Regions from separate parts of the Homo sapiens genome. Here region 1 is linked to region 2. Evidence: promoter capture Hi-C in 16 types of primary human blood cells and fetal thymus (Javierre and others, 2016). All regions are on one chromosome and are shown on one strand. The core of a region is centred on a gene start or on the middle of the fragment in contact, and the rest is flanking DNA. Distances in the headings are between cores, read along the strand shown. Region 1 holds the start of POLRMT (RNA polymerase mitochondrial). Region 2 overlaps DAZAP1 (DAZ associated protein 1).

The links. Contacts are between HindIII fragments. The CHiCAGO score rates a contact against its expected background, and 5 or more counts as called.
Region 1: the fragment with the promoter of POLRMT here is called in contact with a fragment that was not itself captured in region 2 in 1 of 17 cell types (neutrophils); the score reaches 5.5 in neutrophils.

The regions. Positions count from the first base shown.
Region 1 is chr19:630,668-636,947 of GRCh38, reverse strand. It overlaps POLRMT (RNA polymerase mitochondrial), which reads left to right and starts at 3,411. Exons shown (of 21, transcript NM_005035.4): 1 at 3,411-3,523; 2 at 4,010-4,114. The coding sequence starts at 3,436. It overlaps LOC105372234 (a long non-coding RNA gene), which reads right to left and starts at 3,484. Exons shown (of 2, transcript XR_936226.2): 1 at 3,053-3,484; 2 at 1-2,964. RefSeq lists silencers at 3,198-3,457, 3,468-3,627. The HindIII fragment of the contact is 10,035 bases long and covers 1-6,280 here.
Region 2 is chr19:1,408,360-1,413,956 of GRCh38, reverse strand. The region is part of intron 1 of DAZAP1 (DAZ associated protein 1); the gene reads right to left. Among named protein-coding and RNA genes, the nearest start is that of DAZAP1, 3.6 kb to the right of the region's middle. RefSeq lists a silencer at 5,468-5,567. The HindIII fragment of the contact is 3,424 bases long and covers 355-3,778 here.

The DNA of each region.
Region 1 (6,280 bases), core at 2,162-4,661, 780 kb after region 2:
AGGGCAGTGGTGTGATCTCGGCTCCCTGCAACCTCCGCCTCCCGGGTTCAAGTGATTCTTCTGCCTCAGCCTCCTGAATAGCTGGGATTACAGGCACCCACCATGCCCGGCTAATTTTTGTTATTTTTATTGGAGATGAGGGTTTCACCATGTTAGCCAGGCTGGTCTCCAGCTCCCGGCCTCAGGGGATCCGCCCGCCTCGGCCTCCCGTAGTGCTGGGATGACAGGCGGGAGCCACCACGCCCGGCCAGATATATGGTTTCCCACTTTTGATGGTGATATTAAGTCTCTTCGTAAAACTTAAGCAAGAAAAATAATTAATGTTGTATTTATTAATTTATTTTTGAGACGGAGTCTCGCTCTGTCGTTCAGGCTGGAGTGCAGCGGCGAGATCTCAGCTCACTGCAACCTCAGTCTCTTGGATTCAAGCATTTCTCTTACCTCAGCCTCCCAAGTAGCTGGGATTACAGGCACCACCCACTACCACGTCCGGCTAATTTTTGAATTTTTAGTGGAGACAGGGTTTCACCACGTTGGCCAGGCCAGTCTCGAACTCCTGACCTCAGGGGATCTGCCTGCCTCAGCCTCCCAAAGTGCTGGAATTACAGGCATGAGCCACCATGACCAGCCAATATTGCATTTACTTAATACAGGAGTGGTGGAGACAGATGTAGTTAAAATAAATGGTGGGGCTGGGGGGTGGTGGCGGCTACAGAGTTGCGAGGCTGGAATTTGGGCAATGAGCTGTTTCAGAAACTGCTGTCTTATTCCAAAACCCAGATTATGTTCTTTTTTTTTTGAGACAGGGTCTCGCTCTGTCGCCCAGGCTGGAGTGCAGTGGCTCAATCACAGCTCACTGCAGCCTCTGCCTCCTGGCTCAAGCAATTCTACATCTTCCCACCTCAGCCTCCCAAGTAGATGGGGCCACAGGCAGGCACCATCACAGCCAACAAAATTTTTTTGTATTATTTGTAGTGATGGGGTTTGGCTACATTGCCCAAGGCTGGAGTGCAGTGGTGCGATCTTGGCTCACTGTAACCTCCACCTCTCAGGTTCAAGTGATTTTCCTCCCTTGGCCTCCTGAGTAGCTGGGATTACAGGCACAGGCCACCATGCCCGGCTAATTTTCGTATTTTTAGTAGAGACGGGGTTTCACCATGTTGGCCAGGCTGGTCTCAAACTCCTGACCTCACGTGATCCGCCCGCCTCGGCCTCCCAAAGTGCTGGGATCTCATCAAATAAAAGAAAAGACTAACGCATAAGGAATGGTGAAATAGTTCAGAAGTCGGTTTCCACCCAAGTTTCTGGCTCTGCCAGCCTGCAGGGGTGCAGGGGGTGTCTGTAGGTCTTGGCACACCAGGCCTGGCTGATTCAGGGCCAGGCAGGTGACCCCAGTAGTGGGTGAGGTCTGAGGTCACAGCCCGCTGGGGCACCCTGAGGTGGACTGAGGCAGGTGAGGGAGGGTGCTGCCGTCTGTCGAAAACATTCCCAGCCGGTGGCATCAGTGCGCTCACGCAGGCGTCGGCAGCAGCGTCTGGAATGTGCTGTAAGGAGGCTGCCAGGCCCTTCCAGAGTGAGGTCGAGTCCTCGTTCTGGGCTGATGGGGAAACTGAAGTGCCAGGGTTTGGGGATGGAGGATAGCTTGAGCTGAGGCCCCCGAGCCCCCGTGTGGTCAGGCCCCCTAACTGAGCCCCAGCTACATCTTTGCTCCCTCTCCCCAGCCCCACTCTGCTCAAATTGCTCCTCTGTCCACGCTTGTTCCTGCCTCAGGGCCTTTGCACTTGTTTTGTTTTGAGACAGGGTCCTGTTCTGTCAACCCAGGCTGGAGTACAGTGGCGCCATCTCAGCTCACTGCAGTCTAAACCTCCTGGGCTCAAGCAGTCCTCCTGCCTCAGCCTCCCGAGTATCTGGGACCACAGGTGTGCACCACCATGCCTGGCTAATTTCTTTTTTTCCTTTGGTGGAGACTGGGTCTCAGTATCTCGGTTGCCCAAGGCTTGTCTGGAACTCCTGGGCTCAAGCGATCCTCCCGCCGCAGCCTCCCAAAGTGCTGGGATTACAGGCCTGAGGCACTGAACTGACCTCCCTTTGCACTTTTTTTTTTTTGAGACAGGTTCTCGCTCTGTCACCCAGGCTGGAGTGCAGTGGCGAGATCTTGGCTCACTGCAACCTCCGCCTCCCGGGTTCAAGCGATTCTCCTGCCTCAGCCTCCCGAGTAGCTGGGATTACAGGTGCCCGCCACCACCCCCGGATAATTTTTGTATTTTTACTAGAGACGGGGTTTTGCCATGTTGCCAGGCATGCTTGCGTATTTGCCAAGCTGGTCTCGAACTCTGACCTTAGGTGATCCGCCCGCCTCAGCCTCCCAAAGTGCTGGGATGACAGGCCTGAGCCACCAAACCAGCTCCCCTTTGCAACTGGGATATTAGCCTGGAACACAGTTACCCCCAGATATTCCTATTCTCACCCTTCCCAAGCCTACTGCCCCACAGCAGGCGCTCCCGCCTCTGGCCTGCTGCCCCGGCTGAACGACACAGGTGGGCACACCTTCCAGGTTCCATTCTAAAGCTCCCGCCCTGCTCCTCCTAGGCAGGATCACGCGGAGACCAGGGCAGGCTCTAGGCTCCGAGGTTTATTTCATTCCCTTGACCTCACCCCACTTAGCAGGTGAATCCAAGCCTGCCGCTCCATTCGGCTCCTGCCCCTGAGGGCTTGGGGATTGGAGGGTAAACTGAAGCTGGAGGCTGGGAGTCTCGCGGACTGGGGCTTTCTCTCCTTGCAGCCTCCCTGAGGTCGCACGTGCTGTGTCTTCCAGCAACTTGGTGGCCCTCTCTGAGCCTCAGCTTCCTCCATGATAGACGGCATCCTAATGACTCTTACCCAAAAGTTGTCGTTGGAGCAATGAAGGTTGCGGACAGGAATCTCTAAATTGCAGATGCTGTCCTCGTTATTAGATGAGTATGCCTTGAAAAAAAAAAAAAAAAAGCCGGGCACGGTGGCGGCGTCTGCAATCCCAGCGCTTTGGGAAGCCGAGGGGCGAGGATCTCTTTACCCCAGCAGTTCGAAGCTGCACTGAGCTATGATCACGCCACTGCACTCCAGCCTGGGCCACAACGCGTCCAAAACAAAACCAAAAAAGAAAGAAAAACAGAAAAAAAGTCCGGATTTGAGGTCCTCGGGAAAACAGCCTGAGAGTGCCTCCCAGTTGCCACGGCAACAGCTCTGTCCCGCCCCCTCCCTTTAAAAACAGCAGGAGGAACCAATCAGAGCGTCCACCGGCGCATGCCTTCGCGCCTCCGCTGCATCCTGGGAGTCTACTTCCGGCTGGGGTTTCCCTTCGCAGCCTCCGTCGACCATGAAACCACAACTCCCGGCAGGCGGCGCGGGCGCATGCGCAGGCGCGGGCCGGTGGGGTGGCCTGGAGCGGCGTGCGTAATGTCGGCACTTTGCTGGGGCCGCGGAGCGGCGGGGCTCAAACGAGCCCTACGGCCTTGCGGCCGCCCGGGACTCCCCGGCAAAGAAGGTAACACAAAGGGAGACGGCCAGGCAGCCCGGGGGCCACGGCGTGGGCTCCTCCCCGCGCGGCCGGGGCCTTTGGCGCTTTGACCTTTGCCTCTTTGCACCTGGGCGTGCGCAGCCCACCGACCCGGCCCCGCTTTCCACTCGCCCTTGCCCGCTTTTCGACTGAGGCTCCTCCGTGCAGTCTGACCTTTGACTCGTGGTTTCTTATGCAGCCTCCTGACCCCAGGTGTGGTGTTTAGGGCTCTTAACCTTTGACCTGCTGCACCTCGAGTGCGAGGAACCCTCTCTCGGCGGTTCCGCGCCCGTGTTCGCCGCGGCGGGGCCCTTCCACCTTCGCTGTCTTAGTTTCTTTCCAACTTAAGCCCGTGCTCCGAGAGTTTCCGCTGCGTTTAGGGCTCCTTTGCCCTTCGACCCTTCGGCTTCTGCCTTTATGGAGGCCCCCGCCCACACGCCCGGCCCCGCTCAGCCGCTCTCGTCTTTCCCGCAGGGACCGCCGGTGGCGTCTGCGGCCCCAGGAGGAGCTCGTCCGCCAGCCCCCAGGAGCAAGACCAAGACCGCAGGAAGGACTGGGGCCACGTGGAGCTGCTGGAGGGTGAGCGCGACCCCCACGGCGGCCCGGGAGAGGAGAGTCCGCTCCCTGCTGCCGGGAGAAAAGGCAAAGGCTCAGATTCTGAGACAGGCTGAGGGCGGTCTCCACCTCTCGGGTCCCAGGACACGCCCAGACGGCGTTGCTGAAACATCTCTTGCACCGCTCATGGGCCCTGTCCTTGCTGAGCAGGCTCCTTCCTGGAGCTCTCGTAATTCCCCCTCCCCAGAACCCCACCAGGTGCTCCCACTTTCCAGGGACATAGGTGAGGCCCAAGATTATGTCTGGAGAGACCCCCCCCCCGGCCCCGCCGCCAAGGCCACATGTGCAGAGCCAGGATGTGAACCCTGAACTGACTCAGCTGTCCTGGCTTGGCTCTGGGGGGTAGGCGCCTAATGGAGACTGGATGACTGCGAAACTTGGGAGGGACAGCCCAGGCTCCAGCGGTGGCAGGCCCTCGTCCTGGCCTGGCTGGTGGTGTGGGAGGGAGGTGGGAGCTTCCCTGTGCTTGCTTCCCGCCGGTGCTTCTGTCCCACATCCTGTCTGCGTCCATTAGGCAGCCGGGAAGGGAGAGGCGGGAGAACCTTTATAAAGGGAAAAAACCTGGCCAGGTGCGGTGGCTCACGCCTGTAATCCCAGCACTTTTGGGTGGCCGAGGTGGGCGGATCAAGAGGTCGGGGGTTCGAGGCCTGGTGCGGTGGCTCACGCCTGTACTCCCAGCACTTTTGGGTGGCCAAGGTGGGCGGATCAAGAGGTCAAGGGTCCGAGGCCTGGTGCGGTGGCTCACGCCTGTAATCCCAGCACTTTGGGAGGCCGAGGCGGGCGGATCAAGAGGTCATGAGTTCAAGACCAGCCTGGCCAACATGGTGAAACACTGTCTCTACTAAAAATACAAAAATTAGCTGGGCATGGTGGTGAACGCCTGCAGTGCCAGCTACTCAGGAGGCTGAGGCAGGAAAATCGCTTGAACCCGGGGAGACTGAGACAGGAGAATCGCTTGAACCCGGAAGGTGGAGGTTGCGGTGAGCCGAGATCATGCCATTGCACTCTAGCCTGGGCAACGAGGGAAATTCCATCTCAAAAACAAAACAAAACAAAACAAAGCTCTCAACTGTTAATCCTAAAAGTATCTCCTGAGTTTTGGAGCACTCTGAAGGCGGACATCACGCTTGTCTTTTTATTTCAGCAATTTTTTTTTTCTTGAGACGGATTCTCAATCTGTTGCTAGGCTGGAGTGCAATGGTGCGATCTTGGCTCACTGCAGCCTCCGCCTCCCGAGTTCAAGCAATTCTCCTGCCTCAACCTCCCGAGTAGCTGGAACTACAGGCGCGCACCACCACGCCCGGTTAATTTTTCGTATTTTTAGTAGGGACGGGGTTTCACCGTGTTAGCCAGGATGGTCTTGATCTCCTGACCTCGTGATCCGCCTGCCTCGGCCTCCTAAAGTGCTGGGATTACAGGCGTGAGCCACCACATCTGGACACCTGGGTCCCCCCCCCCCTTTTTTTTTTTGAGACAGGGTCCTGCTCTGTCTCTCAGGCTGCAGCACGGTGGCCTGATCACGGCTCACAGCAGCCAGGAACTCCTAGGCTTAGGTGATTCTTTCACCTCAGCCACCGGAGTAGCTGGGACCACAGGTGCGCGGCCCTGTACCCGGCTTATTTCAACAGTCTTTTTTTTTTAGATGGATTATTGTTCTGTTGCCCAGGCTGGAGTTCAATGGCGCTATCTTGAGTCACTGCAACCTCTGCCTCCCAGGCTCAAGCAATTCTCCTGCCTCAGCCTCCCAAGTAGCTGGTACTATAGACACATGCCACCACGCCCAGCTAATTTTTTGGATTTCTAATAGAGACGGGGTTTCACCATGTTGGCCAGGCTGGTCTCGAACTCCTGACCTTAGGTGATCTTCCTGCCTCGGCCTCCCAAAGTGCTGGGATGACCGACGTGAGCCGCCATGCCCGGCCAGCAATAGATTTCCAACAAGGCTTCTTTAAAGAGATACAGAACACTTAGGCATTGATTGGTTGGCAAAAATGCAACCTGAGGCGGCACGAGCAGGAGCCGCGTTTTCCCTGCGAGCTAGTGGCTCAGCGTCCACCGGTGTAGACACTGGGAGCCTAGGAGTGTGTGTGTGGCAGCTCCACCAGCTGGGGGGGTCTTGCTGAGGCGGGG
Region 2 (5,597 bases), core at 817-3,316:
CCAAAGGGTAAAATGTCAGCCAATGGTGAGTCTGGCAGGGCCAAGAGGATATGGGAATTTTTGTAATTTTCCTGTAAGTCAGAAGTTATATATACAATTATGGTATAAAAGACTTTCATTACTGAGAACAAGACAGAATTTCAGTTTCTTTTGAAACAAGTCTCAGTCCTTATGGAATCTGAGACAGCAACAGATAGCTTTCGTTTCACATAGCTGTGTCTGGAGCTCCCCACCGCAGGTGACCCGCCCGCCTCGGCCTCCCAAAGTGCTAGGATGACAGGCGTGAGGCACCGCGCGCGGCCACACTGTGTGTTTCTGTTGAGATATTTGAGAGCAGCTTCTAACGCTAAAGCTTCCTGTGTCCATGTGTCTTTTACTACCACTCAGGAGCCACCGGCGAACACCTTCTCCCTGGTCTACAGACAGAAGCCTCCGGGAAGTCCCGGAAAGCAGGGTCATCTCTTCAGTGGCAGGGACTGCCTCCAGGGCCCTGGCACAAAGTCCCTACTTCTGAATCTCAGGATGTTTTAATCAATAAAATAAGAAAGCTCCTGGCTGCCAACCTCACCAGGTCGTGAGTGAGAAGCCGGCACATCAGAAACATGCGGAGCCCTGGGCAGGCACCTCCCAGACACTGTCCATCAACTGCCCAGGCAGCAGAACCAACTCTCACACAAGTAAACGTCGGAGTCCAGGAAGCCGGGCGCGGGCAGAGGCCAAAAGGAGGAGCTGCTGGCTCTCGTGGGCTTGCTACGGGGCTGGCGGTCCGCTTGTCCTCAGCTCCAGGCTTGCTCAGCCTGCACCTTGGCTGGCGGCGTGTGGACTGAGGACGTTAACGGGGCAAGGCAACACTGGCCTACGCAGATGAAGGGGTCGGTGAGCAATGTGGCTCCTGCACCCTGCCTCTGAGGGGCCCGCTGGGTGGGAGAGTCATCACCCAGCTGACGGCATCTCCGACACTGGAAGTCGTGGCTCCTACAGACCTCACACCCCACAAACCCAAAAGGGGTGTTCTCATTAGTGGGGGAGGCGTGGGACGAGCTCCACTTCTTCCCTTGCAACCTGGAGTCCAGCGTGCAGTCTGCCCATCAAAGGTCATGATGAACATCTCCCAGGATCTGCAAGCCTGGCACCCAGGGCCTGCAGCTCGACACCTGGCAGGTGCTCAATCCACGGTGGCCGGCGCAGCCACCCTCTTCTGCCTGTTAAAGCAAAAGCCGTTTTGGATGGCAACCTCGCTTGCTGCGTGCCATTCGGGTGCCTGTGCGGTATTTATGCGTAAAGTCCATCTGCAGAGGCTTCCTCTGGCCTAGGCTGACCACAAAGAGCCCTGACCTCCTGGCAGCACCAGAGTGGGCTTCAAAAACCGGCGGCCAGCCCGGCCATTCGGGGCCAGCAGCCTCAATGGGGGCAGTTGGCAGGCGACCTTTCCCTTCCTGCTGGGCCGGGGGACCAAGCCAGGAGGAGCCTGCCTCCCCACAGACCCCACCTGGCTCTGGGCTCCGCCAGTCACACTCAGCTCCGTGCACAATCTCAAGAGGCAGAAGTCCAGGCCCAGTGGCGGCTGATGTGTGGGGAACCCTTCTCTTCTTCCAGAGCATCAGGAAGAGCCTCTAGGGACTTTCCTGCCCCTAAGACCAGGTGGGAAACCAGGACCACTTCACCCACTGCCTCAGGCCAGTGAGCCCAGCCCGCCCCTCCATAGCCTGGACTCCCTCTCCCCAGCAGGGTCAGATGCCCCCCCTCCAGCCCACGCCTGCAGGGTGTGGGGTCCACAGAACACAGGAGCGGTCCGTGAACTGGAACGCGCTGCTGTGTGCTGAAGGAGCCCCTGAATGCCCACATCCTGGGTGCTAACTGTGGTCACCCTCATCCTCTCCCTGCCAGCCCCGCCCTCCCAGGCGGACCAGTGTTCTCCTTGGCAACGCCTGGAGCCAAGCTGGAAGCTCAGCCTATAAGCATCTGTCGAATGACTGGCCTCTGCCAAAAGCCCTGTCACAGCTCTCAGGGATTCTGACATCATGACATGGTGTCACGGGGACCAGGCCTGGATGGGAAAAGGCCTCAGTTCACAGAAGACAGCACAACCTCAGATTGACGGGTCGCACCATGAACATAGCCGCCTGACCAGGAGCGCCCTCTGTGCGGGGCGGGCAGTGGAGGAGTGTGGACTCCCAGCTCCGGATCTTCCACCCCCTGGGGTGACCCCGGGCCCATCCCTCAACTCCTCTGTGCCTCAGTCTCTCTGGCAAAGCCAAGGGTTAGAGCCAAGGCTACAAGCACAGCTGGGCACGCTGCGCGCTGCTGCTAGCTCTGGGCCACTGGGGAGCTGCTGTGTGAAGGGCAAGCGCCAGGGTCCATGCTGCTGCCTTTCTAGACACCGGCCTGCTCCAGACCATTGGAGCCAAGGCGAGCCAGTCAGGAGCACATCCACCCTCAAGGCCCATTCACAGGAATCAAAGGAGCCGACACAGGACAAGCCATAAACCACAAGGAGCAGCGGCCCCCAGCGCAGGGGCAACCAGGCCAAAAGCACAGATGCTCCCAGACAGTGGCTCTCCCCCCAGCAGGACACTGGGTGATGTCTGGGAACATTTGTGGTTGTCACGACTGGGGGTACTCCTGACCCGGAGTGAATGGAGGCCAAAGGTGCTGCCCAGCACCCTGCAGTGCCCACGGTGCCCCAGAGTGATCCAGGCCAGAGTGCTGACAGAGCCCAGGAGACCTGCCTCGGAATAACTCCAAATGCACCAAGAGAGCCCCAGAAAGGCCGGCACGGCCCCATGAGGTTCCCTATCACTCCCCGCACTGCAACAGCCTCCCCCAGATCACGGCCCTCTCTGGCCTGACCAACAATCTTGCCAGGTGCCTTGTGCTCACTCTGCACAGGTACAAGTAGTCACGGCCTCTAGGGGCCCAGCCAGGAGCCCCACTCAGGATGTCTCCTTCCACAGCCACCCAATAAACCCAGAGACCTGCCATGGGCCTGGCTCTGAGCTGCATGGCCCCCGGCCACAGTCCTGGGTATCCTCGAAGCTGCCCAGAGGCGGCTTTCTCCTCTCTCCGCTGAGTCCTTCCTCCCTCTGTGACTTTCCTACAATATTTCCAGGTGTCCCTGTCTTACCATTCCCCAGTGTACCAGATAAAATCTTCCATAAACCTCTCTCTCCAGTTCCATGACCGTGTGCTGCCTTGGAAGCCAGCAGAACACAATGGCCTGGGCGCTCGAGGTGACCCCTCTGAGCCTCTGTCCTCTCCCCAGTAGGCCAGGCATGGGCCCTATCCCTGACACCTGGTCTACCACCCAGGCGCCTAGCACCCAGCGGCTACTCAACAGGATGTGGCGACCCCGGCCGCGCTGTGTCAGCTTCCCAGAATCCAAGTCAGAGGCGCTCAAGCCAGACTTTAAGATGACTTCACAAGGCCAGGGAGGGCACACTGGAGACTCGGGCCTTCCTGATCGCGCGTGCTCTGAGCGCTCCAGGCCACCTGCTGGTGCCAACCCTCTAACCCTCCTGACAGGTCAGTGCCTGTCCCCCACCCTTCACAAGAGGACCAGGACAGGCCCCGCTCCCAAAGGAGGACACTGTCCATCACATCCACCATGTAGGGTCCGCGTGCCAAACCCACCAGGATCCAGAGAGGGACTCCCCACACCCCACCACACGTATGCGCTTCCTCCTGCATGAAGCCCCCCTCAAGCTGACTGGAAGTCGGTGTGTGTAAGGCATCCGTTATCACCGGCAGGCCTCAGCTGACTTTCATCCCCCATCAAGCTTTACATGGACTTCTAAGCCAGCACAGGGACCCTCAAAACTTGGGACGACTTCTCAGACTCAAAAGCAGAGCTTCCCCCAAGGATGGCTCCCTAACCCACCTTCCAGGTGTGGATTCCCAGGGCAGCAGCTGGACGGCCACAAGTGTCCCAGAACAGGGGGCTCCCAAGCTCCAAGTCTCCTGAGGCGTTGACCCCGCACCCATGCATGCTCCAGGCCCAGCCCTCCAAGCGGGGTCCGGCGGGATCTCCTGCCTCCTCCATGGCAGTGAGCAGTGAGGGCTCTGCATCAGGAAGAGGGAGCTCCTCAGGCTGCCGAGCCCCCCCAGTGGGTAAGGGACACCGCAGACCCATGGCGTCCTGAGAGCCGCCATCTGCCGCAGAGAGGGCCTGCTTCCATCCAAGCTCAGCACCCTCCTGCATGGCACCCACCGCACCTGCAGGGGACTTGCCAGGAGGGCGCTTCGCAGGGTCACAAGCATTTCACGCACACAACAACTCCACACAGCAAGATCAGAGCAGACCGTGGACTCCGCATAGAATGGAAGCCGGTCTCCCATGCGACGGGCGGCTGTGGCAACACTTCTTGCCCAAGGAGTCTGACTTAGAAAGCAGTGGACACTCCTGGCAGCCGGGGAGGAGAGCAGGGTCCATGCACTCCAGTTCTCCTCCACGCAGCCCGTGGCGTCCGGGTGGCCTGCGAGCCTATTTGTGCTGTGGGTGGGACCCCTCCAGACCCAGGCTGGGACCCCAGCTGCCCCACTTCCCAAGGGTGTCCATGCAGGGAGGGGACAGGAGCCCTCACCTCTCTCCAGCCTCCTCACAGCCACGGCTTGGGTGGAGCGGGCCCACGTTCACCCGCGGCTTGAATGGACCTAATCCAGGTACCCCATCTGGGAGCCCTTTCCCTGCCTCACCCCAAAGTCGATGGCTCCATCCCCCATGGCCGGTGGACTCCCTGCTCAGGCCCATCCCTGCAATGTCCCTCACACAGGCACACGGACCCTGCCAAGTCAAAGTGCCTGGAGAGGACTCACAGCACGGGCTAGGCAGGGGCTAAGTGCTTTCATCCTGGTTCTCCAACGGAAGGTGCTCTTTTGTTTTGTCTGGGGAGGGGGAGAGCCCACAAAAGGCATTTCCCATCCACAAGTGTGACCTGTAGCTGGTGCGAGAGGCGCCTGCCAAGGCAACCCTCTAGCAGCAACCGCTCCCGCACTAGCCAAGCCCAGCGCTGAGAACACAGGGCGCTGCTCAAAGCTAAGGGCACCGAGAAATTTACACCAGACCACTAGGAAACCCAACCCAGACTGTTTTGCCGGAAGAATGCAACTCTAAAACGACGTCGCTGCGGCAGGAGCCGCTCCTACCAAAGAATGGCGCCGAGCCCTGGGGCACAGCGAAATGAGGTTTCCCGGCCCCGCGGGGTCCGGAGCAGGTCAGGCTCCTATAGGAGGGGACGCCTCGGCGCAGCAAAGATCCGCGGGCCCGTCGCCGCCTCGGAAGCGCTGACTCTCCCTTCCGCAGCTCAAGCCCACCCCCGGCGGGGAGGCGCCGAGGCAACGTAAACACAGCAGGCCCCGGCTGACCCGAGCCCCCTGGGCCCTGGGTTTGCGAACCCCTCCCGACCTTACCACTTTGGGGGGGTGGGATGGGAGCGGGGAGCCCGGAGCCCCGAGTGGGATAGGTTGGGCGGTGGCAGAACCGGAACCCTCGCCTCGGCTCGCCACGTGCGCCGCCCGCCAAGTTTGGGCGCGCGCTGGGGGCGCCCCGGACCACCCCCCACGCCACAGTTTGGGGTCCCCCTGGCCAGGAAGCCGGGAGG